2 separate regions of the Homo sapiens genome follow, and region 1 is linked to region 2. The links are contacts of gene promoters, found by promoter capture Hi-C in human tissues and cell types (Jung and others, 2019). All regions are on one chromosome and are shown on one strand. Each heading gives the region's core, a stretch centred on a gene start or on the middle of the fragment in contact. The rest is flanking DNA. Distances are from core to core; before and after follow the strand shown.

Region 1 (5,136 bases), core at 2,102-4,601, 110 kb before region 2:
ATAATGGCACAATGGCCAAAGGCCTGCTCTCTCTCACAGGAAGATTATGCAAGTAAAAAGAAATGACGAATGTGTATGCACTTTGATAAGTGTCATATGGTCTACAAGTACCCTTGAGTCATGATTATTATTAAAATGAATGATGGCTCTATTCAAGGTGAGCCAGTTTTTCCCATCTTTTGTTCAGTGGGCTCCCCTGGTGGGAGGCCAGCAAGCAGCAGAGGCTGGGGTTTCCAGGGGACCAGAAGAGAAGTGGAACAATGATCTGGGGCCCCGAGGACATGCAGTGGAACAGTATTCACAAGGGCTGGGGAGGTTAAGAAGGGGAAGCAGTGTGTCAAATGGCAGGTAGCCAGATAGAGGGGGCAGCAGGCAGGGCCAGGGGCAGGTGCCAAGCTAAATGGGAGAGCCAGGGAAGAAGAAGGAATAGGGAGTTTTCTACTGTGTGGGTTTTCTGGTGAGTAGGAAGAGCTGAAGTCTTTCCAGAGGAATCTCTTCACATCATTAAAAAGGAGTAGCATTAGCAAAAGGCATTACTGGGAATCAGGGATTTGTCAGTGTTTCTGGCAGGTGTGATCTCTTGGATGTCAATTAAGCAATCAGCATCCTCTGATGCATATTCTGAGCTCAGAGGTGCAAATTAGAGACCCATGTGCCTGTTTGCTAGTAGTGTTTACAAGTTTTTAAATTAGTTATCAACATTCCATAATTGTAAGAATTCACATAAAGGTCTGGATAGCCTGCTTTTCCTTAAACTGAAAGATCAAACAATCTTAGGCCCATATTTCTGCAGAGTAACCAGGTTTGAGCTATCCTAAATTGGCTTTCTTCAGTGATTTGTGCTCCCTGGCCCCAAATGCATCTGAGTTACTGCCCTGTGTCATGTAGTTTTCATCCTGGCCTGGTTTTCCAGAGCACAGGAGGTTTGTGCTTAAAATCTCTCCCACCCACATCATCTGGGCAGCCTCATGCCTATCACCATGGGAACGCCAATGGAAACTCTGACTGTGCTTATAGCATGCGCGGGCTTCTTTCCCTGGATTTTATTCTGACTGTGAAAATTTGAGCTCTGAAAGTTGCCTTTTTCATGTCTGTCATATTTAGAGAATTTCTTTCTTGTATGAGTCCTCTGATGAACAAGAAGAAATGCATTTTGTCTAAAATATCATTTTTTACATGCATTCTATCATATGGTTTCCACCACCCCTTGTGGTGGGGCTTTACAAATTCCTGGCATGCATTGATGAGGATAAGCTGTGTCTATTTAAAGGGGCAGGATGGGCCAAACATGAGCTAATTCCATGTTGTATTCTGAAAAAATAATTGTGGTGGTATTAGGAGAGTTATAGCATATATCCATTTCTAACAGTTTCATATATTCAGGCTGCTAAATAAGTAAAATACATATTTTATTTTATTTTTATGTATTGTTTTGAGATGGAGGCTCACTCTGTCTCCCAGGCTGGAGTGCAGTGATATGATCTTGGCTCACTGCAACCTCCGCCTCCCGGTCAAGCAATTCTCATGCCTCAGCCTCCCGAGTAGCTGGGACTACAGGCATGCACCACCATGCCCAGCTAATTTTTGTATTTTTAGTAGAGATGGGGTTTCACCACATTGGTCAGGCTGGTCTCCAACTCCTGGCCTAAAGTAATCTGCCTGCCTTGGCCTCCCAAAGTGCTGGGATTACAGGCGTGAGCCACCATGCCTGGCCTTTGTTTATTTTTAATCTTATTGACACTATCTACTTCTCAAAGCAACTTGAAGTAACCAACAATAAAATATAAGATATAAAAACATGAGACTATATAAATGGGGGAATGATGGATGATTTGACAAACATAAATATCCCTAGCAGACAAGGAGAACCTCATGCTCCTAACAGTCTATGGTTGGGAGTTGTGGTTAAACTATTTGCCCTGAAACCTAATGAAGCCGTGATCCACGTGGCGCAGACTCTGAGAAGGCTCGCCTTACGGAACTGTTCAACAGAAAGAAAACCAGCATAGAAGGAACTTCATTCTTTACTCTCACCTCTCAAAGAACATGAAAGGGGAACAAATCTTCACTCCCATCCTGACCTCTCCTCTGCCCTTTTCTCTTTCCTTAACGATTCTCACGCCCCCTCTCTGATGACTCTTCCCCTGCTTGCCTCCCTGCCCAGATCCTCTGTCTACCTTCTTTCTCTTTTTCTCCTGCTCCAGCCTTTACTCCCCCAGCTCCATCCAGTTATTTTTTGTGCAGATTGTCTTCATTTGTTTGTATGATTGACTCACAAACATTTACTGAAGAGTCTTACAGAGCAAAGACCTTCTTGGAGAAGAGAGGGGCACTGGGCTGGCAATGATCAGATTCTGTTTGGCGTCCAAGAAAGGGATGTGGTCTGTGAACACTCCCACATTATTGGACCTTATTCTGTCCAATCATCCGGCAAACATTTATTGAATGCCTATTGTGGCCAGGGTCTATGCTAAGGTCTGGGAAGACAAAGGTGAACTGAGCGGGCCTCTGCAATGCTTCCCATTCATTAGCATGAAGGAATGGGGAGAGAAGGGGAAGTAACCTCCACTGCTATTACTAATAGTGCCCTCGGTGTTGATACCTACCAGGTAAATGGGTACAAGGCACGGGAGTGAGCTGCCTTCTGATAGGAGCTTTCTCTGCTTGCTGGCTAATGGTTACCTGAAGCAAAGCTCTCCTGACTGTAGGCATCTCACTGGGGAGGAGGACCATGGCAGAGGTGCCCATACAAAAAGGCAGAAACAAGCCATGGGTGGCAAGTGCCAAGCAGGTAACCGCAGACACTCACAATTCCAAGTGGCTTACAAAGCAGGAAGCATAAAGCGATTAGGAGGAAATCCTCTAATCCCTTGATGGAACATCCTGGAAGGTTCTTCACACTTGCCTTCTAATGTGTGCAAAATACACAACTCATAAAATCATAGTGTTCTTTCCCTCATCAGCTGACAGAATCGTTGAGCAAGCTCTGGGCAACTTCTCCTTTTCTGCAAAACTGTTTTGGTGGGAACATTCAGGTCTTGTGGGGGCTGTTTTTCACTCTATCAGGGACTGGGGAGACAGTAATCCAGGAGAGAGTGTGTGGGAAGATTCTAGGGGCCCTCTGGGGTGAATTCTGCCAGATTTTCATGCAGTGCACACACGCATCCCTGCTCCCATTCTGAGCTGTCAAACACAAGGCAGGCCTTCAAGAAAGCTTGGGAGAGCAGTAAGACCAAATAGCGTTGGCCAGACAACCTACTGGCTTAGGGGCTTCAGGGCCTCAGGCTCAGAAGCCACACTACCTTATGGTATACTTTTTAGCTGGATAACCTTGGGCAAGTTACCTTGCCTCTCTGTGCCTCAGTTACCTAATCTATAATGGAACTATCTCACAGGGTAGTTATAAGAATTAAACAAGTTGATATAGAAATAGGATTTCTGGATAAAGCACAGGATGCCCCAGTTATATTTGAATTTCAAATGTACAACAGATAATTTTTAGTATGTGTGTCTCAAATATTCCATGGACATAACTGTATTCTCTCTCTCTCTCTCGACTGAATCTTGCTATGTGCCCAGGCTGGTCTCAAATTTCTGGGCTCAGGTGATCCTCTCACCTGAGTAGCTGGGACTGCAGGTGTGAGCCACCATGTACAGCATATAATCATATTTTCATTTTCCAAATCTGGCAGCCCTAGATGGCAAGCCTGTGGAAGTGCACCTAGCACTGAGCAAATGCTCACTAAGCATTAGATGTTATGTTCCCTTATTATTCCCTTCGGGATTGAATTAATGACTTTGGCATTTGGTTTTGAAAAGATGGTTGCTCTTAGTTCTGGGTCTCCTCAACCATCTGGAGTTAAATTGGGAGAGCCCAGCCACTGTGGTCACGGCGCAATGGAGCATCTCTCCTGGGGCATCTGACCACATAAGCCCAAGTGATCAAGGACCCACCACCAAGGCCACCTTCACCCGGCTCCACTCCCTCTCACCCTCTGCCTCTCAAACCAATCAATGCCCTTTGTGGGTTACAGACATGGAAGCACAGAAACAAACATGGCTAGAGGGAATTGGCAGTTACTCAGGCCCACTGTGTGGTGGGCCCTGTCCCAGACCCCCCTCGTGTTTTCTCACCGAATCCTCCCAGAAACTCAGTGGGTAAACCTGAGGACACCACCTACAAATTGGGGGTGATAATGCCTCCCAAACTCATAGAATTGTGAAGAGGAAACGAGAAGATGAAAGTGAAGGCCATGAGCATGGGGTAGAAGATTGATATCTTTCTTTTTTCTCTTCTGCTTTTCTATTTTGATCTCCACTTTATCAATGCAAAAACTGACTTGTCCAGGGCTGTGCCGCTTGTAAATAGGGGAAGTGACTGAACACAGGCTGTGTCCTTCCCACGACACCACGCTACTCTTAAAGCTGCATCCCCAGTTTTTGGTCTCACCTCCCCTGGTTCCTGGTGCCCTGCTGGCCTCTGACACTCTTATTCTTCCAAGCTGCACTCTCCTTCACAGAAGGTACCTCTTCCTCCAGGAAGCCCTCAAACCAGCACAAGGCTGAACACACAGCTGGAGAAAAGGACAGCATGGGCAGAGGATGCCCTTGGCTCACTGCCCTTCTCACTCCTCCATGGGCCCAGCCTCCCTGGGGGTCCATTTCCCTTCCCTGGAATCAGCCAAGCACTGAGGGCTGGGTCATCTCCCAGCAAGCTCACCCTCTAATAAGCCAGCAGGCCACATTTTGTTCTCCTTAAATAAATCTTATAGAAACATTTAAATGTTTATTTCACTCATAGATTCTCAGGAATGCACAATAGTTTTCCTAACCGCCTGGGCACAGGGATAAATATAGGCCAGTGTCATAGATGGGAATATTAGCTTCCTTTCCCCAGAGTCACATGGCTAGGCCCAGGCTAGGAAACTGTAAGGAACACCCCCAGCCCCAGCTCCAGCCCACTCCAGCTCAGGCAGGCATGGGGGGTTTAGATCCTGTAGATGGGCGCTGGCAGACAGCCCAGGAGAGGAGGACCCTGCTGGAAGGCAATGTGGGCTAGTGAAGAAGTCGGGTAGGCCTAGACCAGAATCCCACCTGGGTGACCTTGGGCAAGTTACTAGTTACTAAACTTCTCTT
Region 2 (4,731 bases), core at 2,230-4,729:
TAAAAGTAAGAATCTTAACAATCTATTTAGAACATGTACTCAACAAAACCCACACTGGCCAAATACACTAACTGCTTTGCCTTGATCTGGTGCACTCAGGCCCAACATGGGGCATGGTGTTTTGTGAATGGACATTATGCAATCATGCCAGTTGAAATAAAATCTTTGAAATTGCTCCAAAACTGGTTCTACAGCTTTAAAACATCTAATTTCATCAGTGCCTGCTACATTTAGGGAAAAACAAAAGGCTGCTTGTAGCAACCTGGTACCAAGAGTGTAGTTTAAGTCTCAATTGTTGCCAGGCCCCTGATAGGTGATTCTCTCTTCATTGTCCTTGCTGATTCCTTGCAGGCCACCTTCCTCTTCACACCCTCTGTGTGCTAGAATTCCTCAGGCTGGGAACTAGGCCCTTCTCTTGTCACTCTCCATTCTCTCCCTAGGTTATCTAATCTAATTTAATCCCATAGTTTTAAAATTCATCTTTATGCCAATAGCTCTCAGACCTATTTCTCCAGGTTAGAAACTGTCTTCTAAATTACAGATCTGTAATTTAGACTATCTGAAATCTGCATCTGGCTGTCGCAGAGACAGTACAAACTACAAACAACACATGTGAAATCCAACTAGTGGTCTACCCTTGCCCAAATGTGCTCCTCCACTAATCTTTCCTATTTTAGGAAATGACACATCATTCACCCAGTTGTTCATGCCAGAAACTGGACGTCCTTCTTGACACTACTTTTTCAGTGACCCCGGCCTATATCCAATACATTGGCAAGTCCTAGTGACTAAGGTATCAACAGATGATTGATAGACAGATAGATAGATGATAATCTTAAATCCATCCACTTCTCTCCACCTCCACTGTCTTAAACCTATTCCTATTTATCATCTGTGACCTAGACAGCAGTTTCCTAAGTGGTCTGCCCACATCCTCTCGAGACACTTTCCAATCCATCTTTCACAACATAGCCAGAACAATCTTTTAAAACCAATTCTTTTTTTTTTTTTTCAGACAGAGTCTCACTCTGTCGCCCAGGCTGGAGTGCACCGGCATGATCTTGGCTCACTGCAACCTTCACCTCCGCCTCTGGGGCTCAAGTGATTCTCATGCCTCAGCCTCCTGAGTAGCTGGGATAACAGGCGTGCACCACCACACCCAGCTAATTTTTGTATCTTTAGTAGAGACAAATTTCACCATGTTGCCCAGACTGGTCTTGAATTCTTAAACTCATGTGATAGGCCACCTCGGCCACCCAAAGTACTGGGATTACAGGCATGAGCCACCGTGCCTGGCCAAAACCAATTCTCTTTTATTCTTTCTCCCTCTCATTGACACATACACATCACTTAAAGCATTTCAATCACTTTGCATGTAAGATAAAACCCCAAATCATTAATATATACTAAGTCAAAAGAAATTCTGAAGGACAAAAGCATTTAGAAAAAAAGTTTACTTACAAAAACACTTGCAAAAGTATACAGGTGAATTTACGCTTTAGAAGGACTGATACATCAAATGAACACACACCAAGGTTTACAGTTAGTTGCTTCATGGTGAGAAAAGAGCAATTTTCTCATATGATTGCCATATGACCCCAAGCTCCCACATATCTTCAGACTGTAGCAGTACAAAAGTCAGCAATTAAACTGTAAGAGAGTCAGTAATATATGGGAAATGCTGAAAGTTTTGTTCACTTTGGAGACTACAGAGTGTGATACTGTTGTTTCACGGTTTATTTCAGAACACAAAGTATTTTGTTTTTCCTGTGGGAAGTAATATGTACACTCACTCATTTTGGAAACAGGACAAGATGTCAGTTTTGCTTTATAAGCATAAACCCCAGCATGTCTGGGTACTTCTTATATCAGCTTCAACTCATGCCACTCTCCCCCTCATTTTCTACATTCTAGTCACATGACCTTCTTGCAGGTTCTCAAAGCTCTTCCCCAACATGCCGTCCCCTCTGTCTGGTACACATTCCCCTACATACTTTACCTGCCAAACCTTACTCATTTTCCCAGATGCAACTTAAATGTCACTTCCTCCAAATCCCACTCTAAACTGAGTGCCCCAACTATTCAATCATAGCACTCTGCATTATCAGGTATGATGCCTTTGGATGCGAATAACTGAAAAACCAAACCTATCAATAGAGTTTTTAATATCAGGGAGGCTTTTGGGCATGGAGAATAACAATCACCACTATGTGTACTTTTGTTTAATGCTTACTTTATAAACTTTAAAATATATTAAACAGTATTTCTGGGAAATACTGTCTGATGCCATCCAATGCAGTATTCACTAACCACATGTGGCTATTGAACACTTGAAATATGACTAATCCAATTAAGGAATTTAATTAGGAATTTTTTTAATTTAAATTTTGGAAAAACTAAAGTGTGTGAACCTATTTTTTCAACTGCAAACTTTATAAAATCTAAACACAGATCCAATATTTCCAATTAAAATCAGGCAACTGAGATCAGTGTATGCATGTGAAATACATATCGAATTTTCAAGACTCAGTATAAAAAAATGTAAAAATTATCTGAATTTTTATATTGACTACATGTTGAAATGAGATTTTGGATATATTACGTTAAATAAAATATATTACTAAAATTAATTTCCTCTTTTTTTTTTTTTTGAGGTGGAGTCTCGATCGATCCCCAGTCTGGAGCGCAGTGGCTGATCTCGGCTCAGCGCAACCTCCGTCTCCCGGGTTCAAGCGAGTCTCCTGTTTCAGTCTCCCTGGTAGCTGGGATTACAGGCGCCCACCACCGCGCCGGGCTAATTTTTGTATTTTTAGTATAGACGGGTTTTCACCATGTTGGTCAGGCTGGTCTCGAACTCCTGACCTCAGATGATCCGCCCGCCTTGGCCTCCCAAAGTGCTGGGATTACAGGCGTGAGCCACCGCGCCTGGCCTCATCTGCAATTTTACTTAAATCACAAATATACTAGATCTTCTTACATGCTTCGAAGAACTAAAAAAAATAAGACATGAATTATCACAATGATTACCGAATTAATTGTAAATTTTTTTATTTAAACTAGTCACAAAGGTATCACAGGTATGACTTACACCTAACGGGGGCCAAAAGATGGGTTGCGAAACGAATGACTGAATTATCCCTAACAATCTTGGGAAGAAAACAGGATTGGCCAGGCCCATCCCGAGAGGTCCACGTCAGGCAGGGGCCCCGCCCACCGCGGGACCAAGCGGCTACGCCTTCCAAGTTTTCATTCGGGGCCGCGCCAGCGCTGAGGAGAGTCAGACGCCAGATGGTTCCGAAGGTCCTGCAGGCTCTCGGGGCACCCTACAGCCGACACGCCAACAAAAGCTTCGGAGCCGCCAACCCCAAAACGGAAACACCGGAGCCACAAGCTGAGCTCGCGTAGGGCACGCTCCCCCGGGAGTGCTTCCGGGACAGGGGGCGGGGTCGCCGGAAGTGGCCGTCCGCCGTCCGCTGCTCGTTGTTTAAGCGGCTGACGGGAAGGAGAAGCCAGAGCTCCAGCGGCGCCGCGGGGCGGCAGTCAAGACCAGAGCCGGAGCCGTCACTCACCTCTGGATTAGCCTGAAGCGGAGACTACCGGCTGCGGAGCGGCGGGGCGAGACACTTGCTCGCCTTTTGACCCCATCATGTCGCGGGGCTCCATCGAGATTCCCCTCCGGGACACTGACGAGGTAAGTGTCGTGTATGGAGGCGGGTGGGGGCCATGAACTTGTACGATCGCCCCCACCGACTTCGCTCGACTTCGTTTCTGAAGCGAGAGCATCCTCCTTCCCTAAGAGCCCTGATCGAAATACCTGGCCAAGGTCTGATCATCATCTTCTTCAGCCCCTGTGCCCTCTCAGGCTGGGGGCACCGCGTCTCTGCAGCCTCAGGGCCACTCGGAGAAGGAGTTCTTGAAAGTTCCTCTCCAGCCTGTTCGAATTTGACAGTGCGCTACTCTTTTCCTAACCAACCCACGGGAGCAGAGGTGTGAGAGTACCCGATAAACTGTAAAACACCTCGCAGATTACAGAGGTGGGCGCTGATGTTTCCGGGGTTTATATGCTTGCTGCTCAAACTCGAGATCTTTCCCTGGGAATATATAGGAGGTCGCCTCTTCTCCCTTAGAAACTCGAGTCTGTCATGGTGCGCTGTGTTCTCTACACCAACTCTCCTTCAACGAGATATCCCAAGATTTAGCCGCCCCTGTGTGCTGATAAAATTTAACCTCCTCTCGCTTACCTATGTCTCATTCATGGGTGGCCTGTGGCTTGTCTGAGTAAAGCTCTCAGCTTTGATGTTCAGTCTTCTTGTATATCTTTTATTTTTATTTTTTTTGTTTGAGATATAATATTGAGGTATAAAATTCAGTGGTTTTTAGTGTATTCGCAAAGTTGTATAGTCATTACCTCTAATTCCAGGACATTTTCCTATTATTATTTTTGTGCTTACAGTCAGGACTGTCTGTTACACGCAGGTGCCACCTCCATGATTAATGTGTGCAGTGGCATTCAACTTTGCATGGCTTGTAGGGTCATGCATCTCAAGGAGTCAGACCTATGGCATAATAGTCTCTAGGGTGCTTATCTGCACTTTACTTGGATTCTATGTTAAGTAGGATTTTGTTTTGTTATTTTTTAGTAAGCAGACCATTTCTAGTATTTTATAGTTCCAGTGATCTGGGGACAAGTAGCAGGGTTTGTTTGCTTCTCTGTGCTTTAACTTTATTATA

Evidence for each region. Contacts are between HindIII fragments. The study calls those that stand out against the background at their distance.
Region 1: a fragment that was not itself captured here is called in contact with the fragment with the promoter of CTR9 in region 2 in 5 of the 25 tissues and cell types used here (H1 embryonic stem cells, IMR-90 fibroblasts, bladder and 2 more).

What each region holds. Positions count from the first base shown.
Region 1 is chr11:10,637,506-10,642,641 of GRCh38, forward strand. The region is part of intron 2 of IRAG1 (inositol 1,4,5-triphosphate receptor associated 1); the gene reads right to left. Among named protein-coding and RNA genes, the nearest start is that of IRAG1, 54 kb to the right of the region's middle. RefSeq lists enhancers at 4,429-4,478, 4,499-4,678. The HindIII fragment of the contact is 8,261 bases long and covers 1-5,136 here.
Region 2 is chr11:10,747,767-10,752,497 of GRCh38, forward strand. It overlaps CTR9 (CTR9 component of Paf1/RNA polymerase II complex), which reads left to right and starts at 3,480. Exons shown (of 25, transcript NM_014633.5): 1 at 3,480-3,691. The coding sequence starts at 3,647. RefSeq lists enhancers at 2,849-3,349, 3,148-3,297, 3,318-3,367. The HindIII fragment of the contact is 21,303 bases long and covers 1-4,731 here.